3 separate regions of the Homo sapiens genome follow, and all the other regions are linked to region 1. Evidence: promoter capture Hi-C in 16 types of primary human blood cells and fetal thymus (Javierre and others, 2016). All regions are on one chromosome and are shown on one strand. The core of a region is centred on a gene start or on the middle of the fragment in contact, and the rest is flanking DNA. Distances in the headings are between cores, read along the strand shown.

What was found. Contacts are between HindIII fragments. The CHiCAGO score rates a contact against its expected background, and 5 or more counts as called.
Region 2: a contact is called between a fragment that was not itself captured here and the fragment with the promoter of LHFPL1 in region 1, in 2 of 17 cell types (total CD8 T cells and total CD4 T cells). The highest score is 6.8, in total CD8 T cells.
Region 3: a fragment that was not itself captured here is called in contact with the fragment with the promoter of LHFPL1 in region 1 in 4 of 17 cell types (naive CD4 T cells, non-activated CD4 T cells, naive CD8 T cells and 1 more); the score reaches 8.5 in naive CD4 T cells.

The regions. Positions count from the first base shown.
Region 1 is chrX:112,677,250-112,681,859 of GRCh38, reverse strand. LHFPL1 (LHFPL tetraspan subfamily member 1) reads left to right here and starts at 1,922. Exons shown (of 4, transcript NM_178175.4): 1 at 1,922-2,031. The HindIII fragment of the contact is 5,630 bases long and covers 1-4,204 here.
Region 2 is chrX:111,693,855-111,698,464 of GRCh38, reverse strand. The region is part of intron 3 of ALG13 (ALG13 UDP-N-acetylglucosaminyltransferase subunit); the gene reads right to left. Among named protein-coding and RNA genes, the nearest start is that of ALG13, 15 kb to the right of the region's middle. The HindIII fragment of the contact is 4,705 bases long and covers 1-4,610 here.
Region 3 is chrX:111,712,689-111,717,298 of GRCh38, reverse strand. ALG13 (ALG13 UDP-N-acetylglucosaminyltransferase subunit) reads right to left here. Exons shown (of 27, transcript NM_001099922.3): 8 at 4,002-4,074. Among named protein-coding and RNA genes, the nearest start is that of ALG13, 34 kb to the right of the region's middle. The HindIII fragment of the contact is 2,250 bases long and covers 675-2,924 here.

The DNA.
Region 1 (4,610 bases), core at 673-3,172:
ACTGATTGAAGGCAGGATTTAGGTATTCCCTAGTTTCCTTTCCAATACCCATTTTAGCACCATCCTGTCCCCTAAATACATTACAAGAAGTGTTCCTTTCTCAAGCCTTTCCACATAATCTTACGAAAGCAAGGCTGAAGAGCATTTTTAATTGAAAACATATCAAGAGCCACAAGATGCAAGCAATTTTTTTCTGAGAGAGCGTTCAACTGTTAAGAACAGGAAATAAAATTTTGTCCAATAAATTAGATTATTATTTATTATACACTTAAGTGTCTATAGAGAAAAGAGGATAAAAGAGGAAAGTAAAATGGTATTCTTCTTAGAGTTTCAAATAATGATAGGTTCCCCAAATGACAGGTGTAGTCACTAAGCAAAGGGCAATATTTACTGCTGTGCATAGAGTGGGGATCATCTATTTTTTATATGTCAACATTTTCAGCCGTATCTCACACAGTTACTACGTGTCAGTTAATATTAACCTATATTTAATGAAGGAGGGCCTAACATTTCTTTTTACATAATCCTATGTCTGAAGCAATGGTTCTTAAGGGAATGACAGCTGGGAGGTTATAAAACTTAGTTGGGGGGCTTACACTGCCAAAAGTCTAACATTCCACCTAAGGAGTCATCTGTGCTTCCCCCAGAAACATGATGGCCTCAGTAAGCCATGATTACAGATGGGAATGGATTTATCACTGTGTTGTAGAACAAAACGGTAAAAATTGCTGATGGAAAGTTGCTAGATAGACAAATACATGCATGAATATAGGATCATATCACTGATAAAAGGCAGGACACAGGTGGTATACACAGAAGGCAGGAGAAACTTTGTAAGTTCATTAAATAATCACGGTACAATTAATATGTTAATTTACGGTCATATTTTGAATTATTGCCACAACATGCTAGAAAATAGGCCTAATCACCTTTGTAGCATTCTGGTGAGGGAACTGGGCCATCAGAGAAGCATGGATACTTTGGATCAGTCCAGTGTGCTCTGTTAATGTAACCATTCTTCCTTCTAAATCATTTGGATTTGTTCAGCAAAGTTCCCCATTCACAGGCCATCTAGGAGGGGAAAAGAGACATGTACGAAAATAATAATAATAATAATGATACTAGGTAGAAGATAATAAGTTTCCCCAAATATGAAGTGTCAGGGACATTCACAGGTGGGAAATATGACATCGGGTTGGAGTAGAACATCAGGCAAAGCTCCATTCATCTCCAGACCACTCAGCTCTTTTCCCAAGCAGAGTAGCAGTTATTAGTGCACTGGGATAAATTAAACACTGACTTTTGATTGTATTATTACTATAAAAATATATTAGTTATTCCTTTCAATGTATGATTTCCACAAATTCTGAAATGTAAGCTCATTACATCTTGGAGCCAAAGATTGCTCTGCTGGAGCATCTTCCCCATCAGGCAATGGAAATCAGTTTGGGGAGAAGAGGTTGTTCTGTCTTATTCTATTTAGGCATGTGTTCTCTCAGTCACTTCTAGCCACATGGGTCTGCTACCTACCATGGTAGAGATTATCTAGGGCATTGGAGGAAAATTAGAGAAAATCTCTGTTCCTCAGCAGGCTTTTGGGCAGCAAGTGAGGAAGTAAGATAACGCAGTTCAAGCGCGGGCATGCCTGCGCGCATGCGCGCGCGCTCGCGCGGACACACATACACACACACGCGCGCGCGCGCGCGCGCGCGCACACACACACACACACACACAGAGCTGCTTTGTCCGCTGTGAGGTTGGAGGTTTGGGGACTCTGTGCCCACTAAGCTACTTTCTATTTCAAGTGCCTGTATGTCTGAGGCTGGGTTTGAAGCCTCCAGCGTGTTTGGAGTTAATCCCCATTAGGTTGGACTCCGCCCCTTTCTCCCAAAGGTAAAGCAAGGTTTTCAGGCATCACTGCAAAGGGCAGCTAGTATTCCCATCCTTGTCTAACAAGCTGTAAGGAGAAGTTGTTTCTGAGATCTGAGCCTGAAGAGAGGGAACAAGTCAGTCAGCCTTCGTGGTCAGAAGGTAAATATGCAACTTGGGCCAAATGCAATTCAAACAGCTGGATAAGAAACTGCTTTGCTCTCCCCTTGCTCAGCCCCCCCTTCTCCCCTTCCTTTCTCAGGTTTCCTGTCCTTTCATCTCAAAGCTCAGAGAAGCCGTTTTCTACCCGAGGGCAGCCTGGTGCTTTTTTATTTCTTCATAGTCCGTTGTTTGCACAGAGGCTAAGATGAATCAGGGCTGGATTCCTATTTCATATTGACAAGATTTGAGGACCTAAGGGTTAAGTGCTAGTTGGTTTCCCCAGGGGAGTTGGTAACCTGAGGAGATGAAGTGCCTGTTTCTGGGAGTGGAGAGAGTGATTTTGTTATGACCTGTCTATACAAGTAAAAATGGATCCGGTTTGCTAATGTGGTAGGTTGATCTCCTGGATTTGCCTAAATCTAAGGGGTTATGCGACGGAAATGGGGTAATGAAGTTAAACTGAAATGCAAATATTGAGGCCTCTCAGGCTGGAAATAAAAGAATGCATCCATTTGGTAAATATTTATGAGTTCCTACTATGTGCCAAGGCATGACAATTTCCAGAAGAACCTGAAATACTTAAACTATAAATCCATTCTTGCAAAGAACACTTGGCCAAGTGGTTTCATTTTGTGGTGGGGAACTGAAAATAGAATGAAGCCTAGGGGTGAGGAAAAATCACCCATGGAGTGGTTGTGGGGAGAGAAAGGGGAAAGGAGAGATGTTCTAAATCTTAGGTGGTTTCAAGTCTTTTCCATTACTTATGAGAGAATAGGGTCTTTTCTGGTAGAAAGGGAGAGAATTGATACCTACTCTGGTGTTAGGTATAGTGCAGATGTTTCACTTGAATTTTATGCTTAATCATTTCCATTTTATAAATGAAACCAAAACTCAGAGGTTTTAAGTGATCTTTTTATGTGCATATAGCCTGTAAGGGGCAGACCTCAGGACTCTGTCTCTGATCTGATTCCAAAATTGTGACTTTTCCACTAAAACAGTATTCCTCAATCATTAGTTCCCATTAGAATAAATTGAGGATTTTTAACAATATGAATTCCCATAAATTCGAATTCAGTGAATCAAGGAGGGGGTGACATAGTCTGCATTTTGAACAAGCATTGAAAGTGATTCTGAACAAGCATTGAAAGTGATTCTGTTGAGACAAACATTCTTGATATACCATGCTGCCTCTCAACTTCTCTGAAGTGATTGGAAAAGCAATCAGCCCATCTTCTTCCCATATGGGCCAGATTCACTCAATAGAAGTGGTCAGCTGTGGTGACATTTTATTCCCAGCTTATACAATGGAGTGGAGAGACTAATGGGCAACAATAACAGGGCTGGGGTTTAGGGCTTAACAATGTCTTGCCAGGGATCTTGATAGGGGTAGTTTCTAACCAGCTGAGAGTGTGAGATAGAACTCGTAGCCAACCAGCTTATCACTGAAGATGATGGCACCTGTCTAGCCAGAATAAGAACTGAGATGAAGATCTCTCATTGGTACCTCACTTTTAAAATCATAGGATAGATGGGGAGCTCAAGGAGCAGCATCTTGGGGAGAGGGAAGGAGAGAGAAGCTCATATGAAATTTGGGGAGGTTATTCCAGTTCCTACCTTTCCAGTCTCAAACTCTGGAGAAAGGAAATAGCCCAGGGCCTGATGTGGAGGTTCTTTTTATGAGCTCTCTTTGTCTCTGCATGGTCAAATATATTTATTTAGAGTTGATCATTTCAAAGTTATCAATTGCTCAGTTAGTCCTTTCTCTCCACTTAGTCTCTGGCTTCCTGCCTTTTAATGCCTTACCTGCTTGTGAGCATTCCCACCTCTGGATGGAGAGATGCAAATAAACACATAAACTCACCCAACACAGTTTTGCTGGTCTTTCTACCCCAAACTAAAAAAGGAGGGAAGGAAGAAGAAGGCCCAGAAAGAAGTTCAGCAAACATGAAATCTGAGGAATTTGAAATAAAAGACACAAGTCAAAAGAGAGATCTTCTTAGAGTCACCAAGATGAGTGAGTACATCATGAGATGATTTCAGGCACAGGAGAACTCAGAGCACTTCTCATAATGGAGATAGCCAGAGGAGAAGAAACCCCTGAGGGAGACAGGTAGCAGAACATGAGGAGAGAAATGTTTGGGGAGTAGCAGTATTTTTTTTTTTTTTTGAAGCTTTGTCTGAAACAGAAAGATCTAGCATGGTCAGGCTGCTTATATACCCAACTTGATATAAGGAGTCACATCGGTCCAACACGTTTCTCTGGAGCAGGACTCTATTTACCCACTGGAAACATATGCCTGCATATCTCATTCATTTCCTAGGGAAGTCTCAACTCTGAGTAAGATGTATTTGTAACAGGATTGGCAGGAAGACAATGCACACTGTCTGGGGGCGTGAGGAGAAAGGCCTGTTCACGTTCCTTTGCCAACACCAGTGCCAAGAAAGCTGCTCTTCACAGACCAGTCCTAAACCAGCAGTCTTGCAGGCATGTTTCCCTCAGCAGCTGTTAAGTCACTGACTCCCTTTCTTACCACTTCATGTTCTAGTCTTTAATTTGCTTACTGTTTTGCCTGTACCCT
Region 2 (4,610 bases), core at 1,091-3,590, 980 kb after region 1:
GGACATAAGTTCTGGGATCTTTTGTACAGCAGAGTCGCTACAGTCAATAATAATATATTGTGTACTTCAAAATAAGAATTTCAAATTTCTCACCATAAAAAATGATAGGTAAGTGAGGTGAATATGTTAATTAGCTTGACATAATCATTCCACATTGTACACAAATAGCAAAACATTACATTGTACCCTATAAATGCATATACAATTGTGACGTGTAAATTAAAAACATTAATTTTTGAAAAGTCTCCTCTTCCATGTAGGAAGGTTACAATGATATTCAAATTTAAAAAACAAAACAAAACCAGTTTAAGCATATTATTTATAAAACATAAAGTAATACGGTCATCTATAAGAAGCAGGAACAGAGATGCGGAGGAATAGGACATACAACTGCTGTTTCTTGTTGTAAGCCTTGTATAATCAATTAACATTTTTAACTATTCACATGTATTACCTTAATTTTAGAAAGCAAATTTAAACATTTTATCATTAGTGAGCAAGAAACAATAGCATCATAAACTGGGAAAACAAGTAATTGGAATTTTACAGCTCCAAGGGATCTCTTACTTTACAGATGAAGAAACAGGTCTGAAATAGTTTTAAGACCTACCTAAGTTTTCACATCCAATCAGTAACAGTACTGAAACTAAAACTATATAAAATCTCCTGATGTTTGCACAATTACCATAAAGAGGAATTACATACCAAGGCAGAAAAAACATGAACAAAAGCCCAGAAGTGGTAAAGCAGAGGTTCCATTCTGCAGATTAGTACAATAGGATATTTTAAAGAGAACTGTGGGTCGATTCTAGACTTTGTCTTGCATATAATAAAAAGCCACTTCAAGGTATTTAATACTGTCCTTTGAAATATCGCACTTGAAATCCCAATTGGCTTTCTCCACAGCAAACTACTTTAGTCCTGAAAAACTTCCAGAACAGTGGTTCTCAAGTGGAGGGCTTGTTAAAAGATTGCCTCTTGCCCAAGGGATTCTGAGGCAGGTCTGGGATGAATCCCAAGAATTTGCATTTCTAACAAGTTCCCAGGTGATGATGATGCTGGTCCAGGGAATACACTTTGAAAACCACTGCTCTAGAACAACATATTCCTAAAAAGAGAATTTCAAGGCCAAAATTTCAGCAAACTTTGCATATTATAATCCTATCCTTGAGATTCACAGTGCCCATTAGCAACATTAAAGGTCCTAAGGAATGCTTATAGTAAATGCTTCACATTTTTGACCTAGCCTTTATCAAACACCTTCTTCCCTCCATAGATCACCTATTAATGTTTCAAAGTTTGAGAAACACTGCTCTAGAAATTTTTGTGACTTAAACCTAAGGTTGTTAGAATAATACAAAAGACACTGTATATTCAGTGTTTAGCACGTTCGTGCTTAAATATGGATGGCTGTTAGCTGCTACCTGACAAAACATTCAGCAAGCAATCATTCTTTGGTCCAAAAAAAAAAAAAAAAAAAAAGGTAAGAACCAGAGCAATTTCACTGAAATTCTACTGGAAATCAAAGTTCTAATATGGGTCCATATCCTGTTTCCCCATCCCTAATGGAATTATTCCCTTTGACATCTAAGTATAATGGAAAGAAAATGTCTTAAAAAAGACATTTTAAGTTTTAAGCACTGTATCTCTGGGTACAGATTAAAATAAGTTGAAAAAACATTAAAGTAACTTTAAATAACATAGTTTACTTGTCATGAAACTGATGGGCTTTAATTTTGCAATGACTACTTTTTATACTGAAATTTAGCTAGAATACGTAATTTGCCCTTTTAATTGCTATATTTATTTCTTCACTGATAAACAAGGAAACTGTAGTGTGACATATAAATACTAATGATTTTAATTCTAAAATAACACTTCACGTTTCAACCAATTAAATGAGGTATGTCCGGAATTATTTTTTTAAAGCATACATTACCTGTGACATACAAGGTATAGTTGTAAATGTGTATGACAAAATGCTATGAGTTATTAGTTTCTGAGAGGCAATATGGTATCATGAAAAGAATGTTATGAACTTGGCTGTACCACTTTAAGTCTCAGTTTCCTCATCTGTAAAATAAGTAGATGGGCTGCATAATCTCTAAGCACTCTTCCAAATGTAGGGAATTACTCTGTGATTCAACAGTGGATAACAGACTTTAGGTGGTAAAATTTGTAATCAATATTAAAATATTGATAACACCTTCCTTTAAGTGGTCAAATTTGTGATCAATATTAAAAATAGCTTTTGGGTGTTAGCCTATTATCTTGGCAAAAAGTGGGGATGACTGGCCCACATAAAAATGAATAAATCTGACATTACCACATAAACAGACCTAGATTTTTAAAGATAACAAACCCATGTATTAACATATAACAACTTGTAACAGAACCTACTGAAAAGCCAGTATTTTAAAAATTAGCCCTAAATAACTTACTTCAATTATTTTTAGTACCAAATAACATGAAGCAAATTAAGGGAAATAACTCTACAGAACCTCTTTTTAGGGTCTTTCATTACTGAAAATATAATGGTAATGTGTTTTAAAAATGTATTTTAACAGCACCCTGGAACTAGAGCCTATCAACTTTTCAGGGTGAACATTCAAGCAGAATTAGCAAAGCAAGATTTATGAAGGAAGGGAACACAATGGTTCTAAAACAAAGCATGGCCTGGCAGCCCTGTTCAACCTCCTCCTCAAGTTTTAGGAAGGAGAAATAAAGGCAAGACAAAGAATGGATTTCCCAAAGAAGTAATCCTTCTTCGGAATTGCAAAATAAAATATTATCAAGAACCACTTGCTTTCATTTTCTTCTCTTCCCCATTTCCACCTGATAGCATGACAATACAGATTTTTTTTTAAAGGAAAATATTACTTTGCTTTAAAATATACCACACTGGCACACAAACACTGAGGGTTTGTTTTTTTTTTTTTTTTAAACAGAGTTTCGCTCTTGTTGCCCAGACTGGAGTGCAATGGCGCAATCTTGGCTCACTGCAACCTCTGCCTCCCAGGTTCAAGCAATTATCCTGCCTCAGCCTCCTGAGCGACTGGGATTACAGGCATGTGCCACCAAGCCGGGCTAGTTTTGTATTTTTAGTAGAGACGGGGTTTCTCCATGCTGGTCAGGCTGGTCTCAAGCTCCCGACCTCAGCTGAACCACCTGCCTTGGCCTCCCAAAGTGCTGGGATTACAGGCATGAGCCCCCGCGCCCAGCAGAAGGTTGTTTTTTGACTTAAGATACCTGCAGTGTCTGATCAGTCTAGAGACAGGATTAGCAGAAGGAGGGAAAAAACCCAGAACATTTGAAGCACTGGAAAGACTCATTCAATTAAACTTCTAAATAAACTTAAATTATCTAACTATAACCCCAATTAGAAACTGAGTATGAGTTTAAACATGAAATTCAATGAAAAATCTGCTTTCCGTATCATTTAGGACTATATTCTGTGAATTCTAAAAATAGATCTTAGTCCTACTTCTCAAAACAAAAACTAACCAAGAGAAAATGTGTTATTTCAACAGCATTTTTAATTTTTAAAACATGCCACACAACTAGGTTTATGTCTTAGAAATCACCCGAGAAGTTAGTTTTATTAATTCACAAACAGGAAAACTGAGATCCAGAAAACTACTAATTTAGGCTAAGGACTTAGGAATGTTTTTCATTACTAAATATGGGGAGTGTATTATCCCCTCACTTCACACTGGCAGTGGAGAATTGACCAGTATGTAATGCTGCACAAAAGGAGAAATGATCATTCAAAAAGATGTACTATATGCGTCTCATAGACATCATTCCAACAGTGACTATCAGGGTCCTGCAACCAAGTACTTTAGTAGCACACTTAACCATGAGTAAACACCATATTGTATTGCCTTACTGGATTTCTTCACCAGTCTATTATAGGATATTCTAAAATAATTACTACAAATAAAAAATTCCATTTAGTCCTTATTATCTATTAGAAAAGACACTATATGACATTATGGGTTACAGATACTGAGTTAATAGCATAAGAATATTAAGGTTAGTTTCAAAAATGTATTGGCTAGTATGCTTTAAACAAAAAAAGTATTGAATTTGTGTTACATTATAAAAACTGGGAATTACTGGCCGGGAGTGGTGGCTCATGCCTGTAATCCCAGCACTTTGGGAGGCTGAGGCGGGTGGATCACGAGGTCAGGAGATCGAGACCATCCTGGCTAACATGGTGAAACCCTGTCTCTACCAAAAATACAAAAAAAATTAGCTGGGCATGGTGGTGGGCGCCTGTAGTCCCAGCTACTCCGGAGGCTGAGGCAGAAGAATGGCGTGAACCCGAGAGGCGGAGCTTGCAGTGAGCAGAGACCGCGCCACTGCACTCCAGCCTGGGCGACAGAGCGAGACTTTGTCTCAAAAAAAAAATAAATAAATAAAAATAGAAATAAAAATAAAAACTGGGAATTACTAAATTTAAATGTAATTAATCAAAAGGGTTTAATTACAAATGAGTCTAGGAATTAAGACCAAAATAGTAATAAACAATGACCAAGAAATGAAGTTACTGAAGTTCGCCTCAGCCTAGGGATTCTTAACCCGGGGCCATGAGGTCCTGCAAACTT
Region 3 (4,610 bases), core at 550-3,049, 960 kb after region 1:
CACATCTCAGGCTACAAAAATGACAGTTTAACGTCTGAGCTGATTCCCTGAATCCCTAGAGGTTTTTTTTTCCCAAAACAATTCAAAGGCCATGCTTGTTAAGCAAAATTTTTTCAGTCAAAATGTTGCATGTGATGAAATTTGTTTATATAACTGTTCCAAAACCTTTCTGAATTTTTGTTGAAAAAATCTGTCTTCACCAGGTGGGATGGTGTGTGCCTATAGTCTCAGCTACTACAGCAGGAGGGTCACTTGAGCCCAGGGGTTTGAAGCTATAGTGTGCTATGATCTCACCTGTGAATAGCCACCACACTCCAGCCTAGGCAACATAGTGAGATCCCCATCTCTTAAAAAAAAAACAAAAAAAAATGTCTTATATAAGGGATATAATCCCTAGTGATTAAGGTTCTTCCATTTTGAAGGTATCAGCAACCTGAGTTACTCAAAATGATTCTGCAATCTGTGGAAAGATGTTGCCACCAAGCCTCCTTGGCAGAAAAAAAAATTATCCTAAGCATTCTTTTTTTCTGTCTTCCTACTCTTCCCTGGGCTAACTTCTCCCAATAATCCAGTTATTTGATCCCAGGTCTATTATTCTTCACTTGTCTTTTTGGAAATCACAATTCTATTTCAGTAATAATCCATTTCAAAGTACTGAAGTCAAGTGTCAAGCTTAAGTAACTCACAGTAAAGTTTAAGTTATAAGTTTCTCCCACCACAAGGGGTATTTGCATTTAAGAGTTTATTAACCCATAAGAACAGTGAGCAGATTTTGAGCAGAGAAATCCTTTGTACTTTGGGCTACAAGAACTGGGAACTCTAAGAAATATTAATAACTTAGAGGCAGTTGTTAAGGAATAAAGGAATCCAGTTAACCAGAGTGATGAATAAGCAGTTCTTATAGAAAGAAGACAGACAACTATATAATTTCTCTATTCAAGTGGCAAGAATTTCCATTTTGACTGGAAGAGGCAAAACAAGGCATGATGGCTTTCCCAACATGAAAGTAATTCATACATACTTGTGGGTGGTTGGGAGTGGGCAGATGGGATGTAATTAATGGCAGTAAACTAGTGAAAAAATGGGGTAGATCTATATTACTAAGAAGGATATTTAAAAAGAACAAGTAACAATGTTAAATATGGGCCCATTTACATTTAAAAGACAAACACAAATAAAATGATACAGAAAGATACTCACCAATACTTAATAGTTTGTTACTTTGAAGTGCATGAGAACCAATACTTGTTACTTTGAAGGGCATAAAATTGAAGAGGATGAGTGGGGACTTTCTTACTCTACATTTCAAGACTTAATTTTATTTTCTTTTTAATGTAAGTATGTACTTCTATCTAGATAGAGCAAATGAGCTGAGTGAAGATGGCTCGATTTCAGCTGAATACACTTAAGAAACTGAAGATAACTATGTAGAATGCAGAATTAAGTCAACACACAAGATGAAAGATGCCAAAGTGAATATTAGACATTTATTTCTATGAAAGTTTGTTCTAAAATATTTTTAGAAGGCTCATTAATAATGTTCACTGCCTATAATACAATCATTTTTATTTATTTATTTCTGAGATGGAGTCTTGCTCTGTCGCCCAGGCTGGAGTGCAGCGGCGCAATCTTGGCTCACTGCAACCTCCGCCTCCTGGGCTCAAGTGATTCTTCTGCCTCAGCCTCCCAAGTAGCTGGGATTACAGGCATGCGCCACCACACCCAGCTAATTTGGGTATTTTTAATAGACACGGGGTTTCACCATATTGGCCGGGCTGGTCTCAAACTCCTGACCTCAAGTGATCCACCCACCTCGACCTCCCAAAGTGCTGGGATTACAGGCATTAGCCACCACACCCGGCCTCATTTTTAAAAATTCAATCCTGATGCCAATCTTAGGAGTGTGAACTGAGATAAAGCAACAAAGTTTTAGGCAAAGCAAAGCATCACAAAATAAAAGCACCTGGCTTTTCAATATAAACACACACTCCCACTTCATAAATTCCCAAATCAGACATATATATGCACTATCCTGTACATGAAAATACCCAAGTGCTGGTAAGTATTAGCTCTGTATACATGTATGGATATTTGTAGGTTGTACACACTCAAAAGGTCTGAAATTTTTGTATTCTCATGGTTCCCAATGGGTAACGTTCCCCCTAAATTAGCTAAATAATCTCTCTGTAAGATACACAAGACATTTATAAATGGAACTGTGTAATTGTAGGAACTAAGTGGTGGGTACATGAATGTTTACTGCATGAGTCTTCATACTTCTCTCTGTATGAAAAATTTCAGAATACAATGTTGAGGAAAAACTGAACTGGGAGTTTAAAGATCCCTGGTAAAGATCCAAATTTCATCTCAAGCAATGCTATGTACAACTGCTTAGATACAAAAGTTAACACTCCTCTTCCTCAAACAATTCAGATTATGTCACACCTTTGCCTAAAAACTTTCCATTAGCATTTAGGGTCAAGTTTTCTGGTGTCTGAAATTTACTTTAAAATATATCAAAAAAGAAAGATGGACAGATGAATGGATCGAGGAATAGATATGTGATAAGAATACTAAGATGTTAACAGCAGACTCTAGGTGGTGGGTAGGTATATGGATGCTCACTGTAAAATTCTTTTAACTTTTCTGTATGTTTGAACATCATAATAAAACGTTGGGAAAAAGTTTCAAATGACTATTCTGTACAATGAAAAGACAAATTATTTGGCATGGCCTGCTCTACCTCTTACTATGTAACTCTAGACTATCTTTCCAGCATCATCCTCCTCACATCCAACTACTTAACTCCCAAAGGGTCTCTTGCTTCTATGCCTCTGTATATAGTGTTTCCTCTGAATAGACTGCTCTTCATATTTGATGGACTCTTTTATACTCCACTTAAATGTCACTACCACCATGAAGCTTTCTAAACTCCCTCAAGCAGAAAGAAGGGCTTTTTCCCTTATGCTTTTAGCACAATTTTTTTTATTATAAAACTTACCACTTTGCTGTAATTAACCCTTTGCAGGTCTGTCTTCATTGTCCCTTAAGCTCTTGGAGGGCAAGGATTTCACTGTATTCATTTTGGTGTCCCCAAAGCTCAGAAAAGAGATAATTAACGTACCCCGTTCATACTTATCTTCTAAGTTATCTCCTATTCAGTCTTCTCTATTCCTAATGCTACTTCTCCTTAGTTCAGGTATTCACCCTCGATTATCGTAACAGCATCCTAACAGTTCTCCTGGTCTCCAGTCTTGTCATGCCATCATTAGAATTGTGTCTAAATTGTGTTCCATGTTGTGAAATAAGACATATAGAACTCAAACATTGTGTAGTCTATATTTCACTAATAAAATAATCAGGATAAAGGGCTTTTCTTTTATAAACTTTTTGGAGAAGCTGTATGCTGACAAACAATTTATCTGCTGAGTATTCTCAACTAACAATCAAGTACTTTACCAGGCAGTAGTAGACACTGTCACTTCCCTCAAGAAACTTTCAGATAATGAAAGAAATACATATGAAAACAAACACAATATAATAAACACTACAATTACTTGGGAGCTGCTAAGGGAGCACAAAGTGAGAAAATGACTCCAGGGGCATTGGGAAAGTTTCAAATACAAAGACACAAAGTATGAAAAGCAGAATACCTGGAAGCATGGCATAATAAGGATGGAAGAAAATGAAGCTGGTTTGGGACCTTTCAGGATGCTGAATGCCTAGCTTCAAAGTTTGAACCTTATCCTTTTTAGTCATTGAGAAGCCAATTAGGGTTTGGGGTGGCTTTTTTCCTATCACAGAGAAATGACGATCAGGTCTGTTTAGAGGGCTAACAACACTGAGATTAACTGACTAGAGAGGAAAATGCTAGTAACAGAGAAACCTGTCATTCAGACTATGCTTTTCATTAATTAGGTTAAAAATGATTTAATATCCAGGCAAGCCAGAAGCATCATTCAACTTCTTTTATATAAGTCAACATTCACTCATCTTCTTACCTTGTCTTCATAGCCATTATCTGTGACATAAGTTGGAGGTTTTCCAGGAAAGCGATAAAGAATGAAATCCCGACTATATGGGGAAAACAAAGGTAAGTGGGAAGACATAATTTGGCATACGTAAGAGATAGTTATAGGAACAACTATTTGTGCTTTTAAGTTGCCTACCTTATTCATATAAAGTAATATAAATATCCGGTTTAATGTTTGGCTTTAAAATAACCCAAAAGGGCTAAATGATGTTAATTCAAGGTAGACAGCTAATTGCCCCTAAAGTCCTATGGATTTTTTTTTATGTATCTTAATTTGGGAGGAGAAGGGGTAAAGACAACCAATTATCAATTGTATGTATGTCTGTGAGTTGGGGGATGGTGCTCTCCTTTATTTAAAGCAGAGGTTGGCAATTTTTTTGGCAAAAGGCTAGAAAATAGGCATTTCAGCTTTTGCAGACTATATGGTTTATTCAACTTTGCTTTGGTAGCATGAAAGCAGCCACAGACAATGCGTAAGTGAATGAGCATAACTGTGTTCCAACAAAGCTTTACAGACACTGAAATCTGAATTTTATATAATTTTTCCATCCCATGAAACATTCTTCTTTTGACTTTT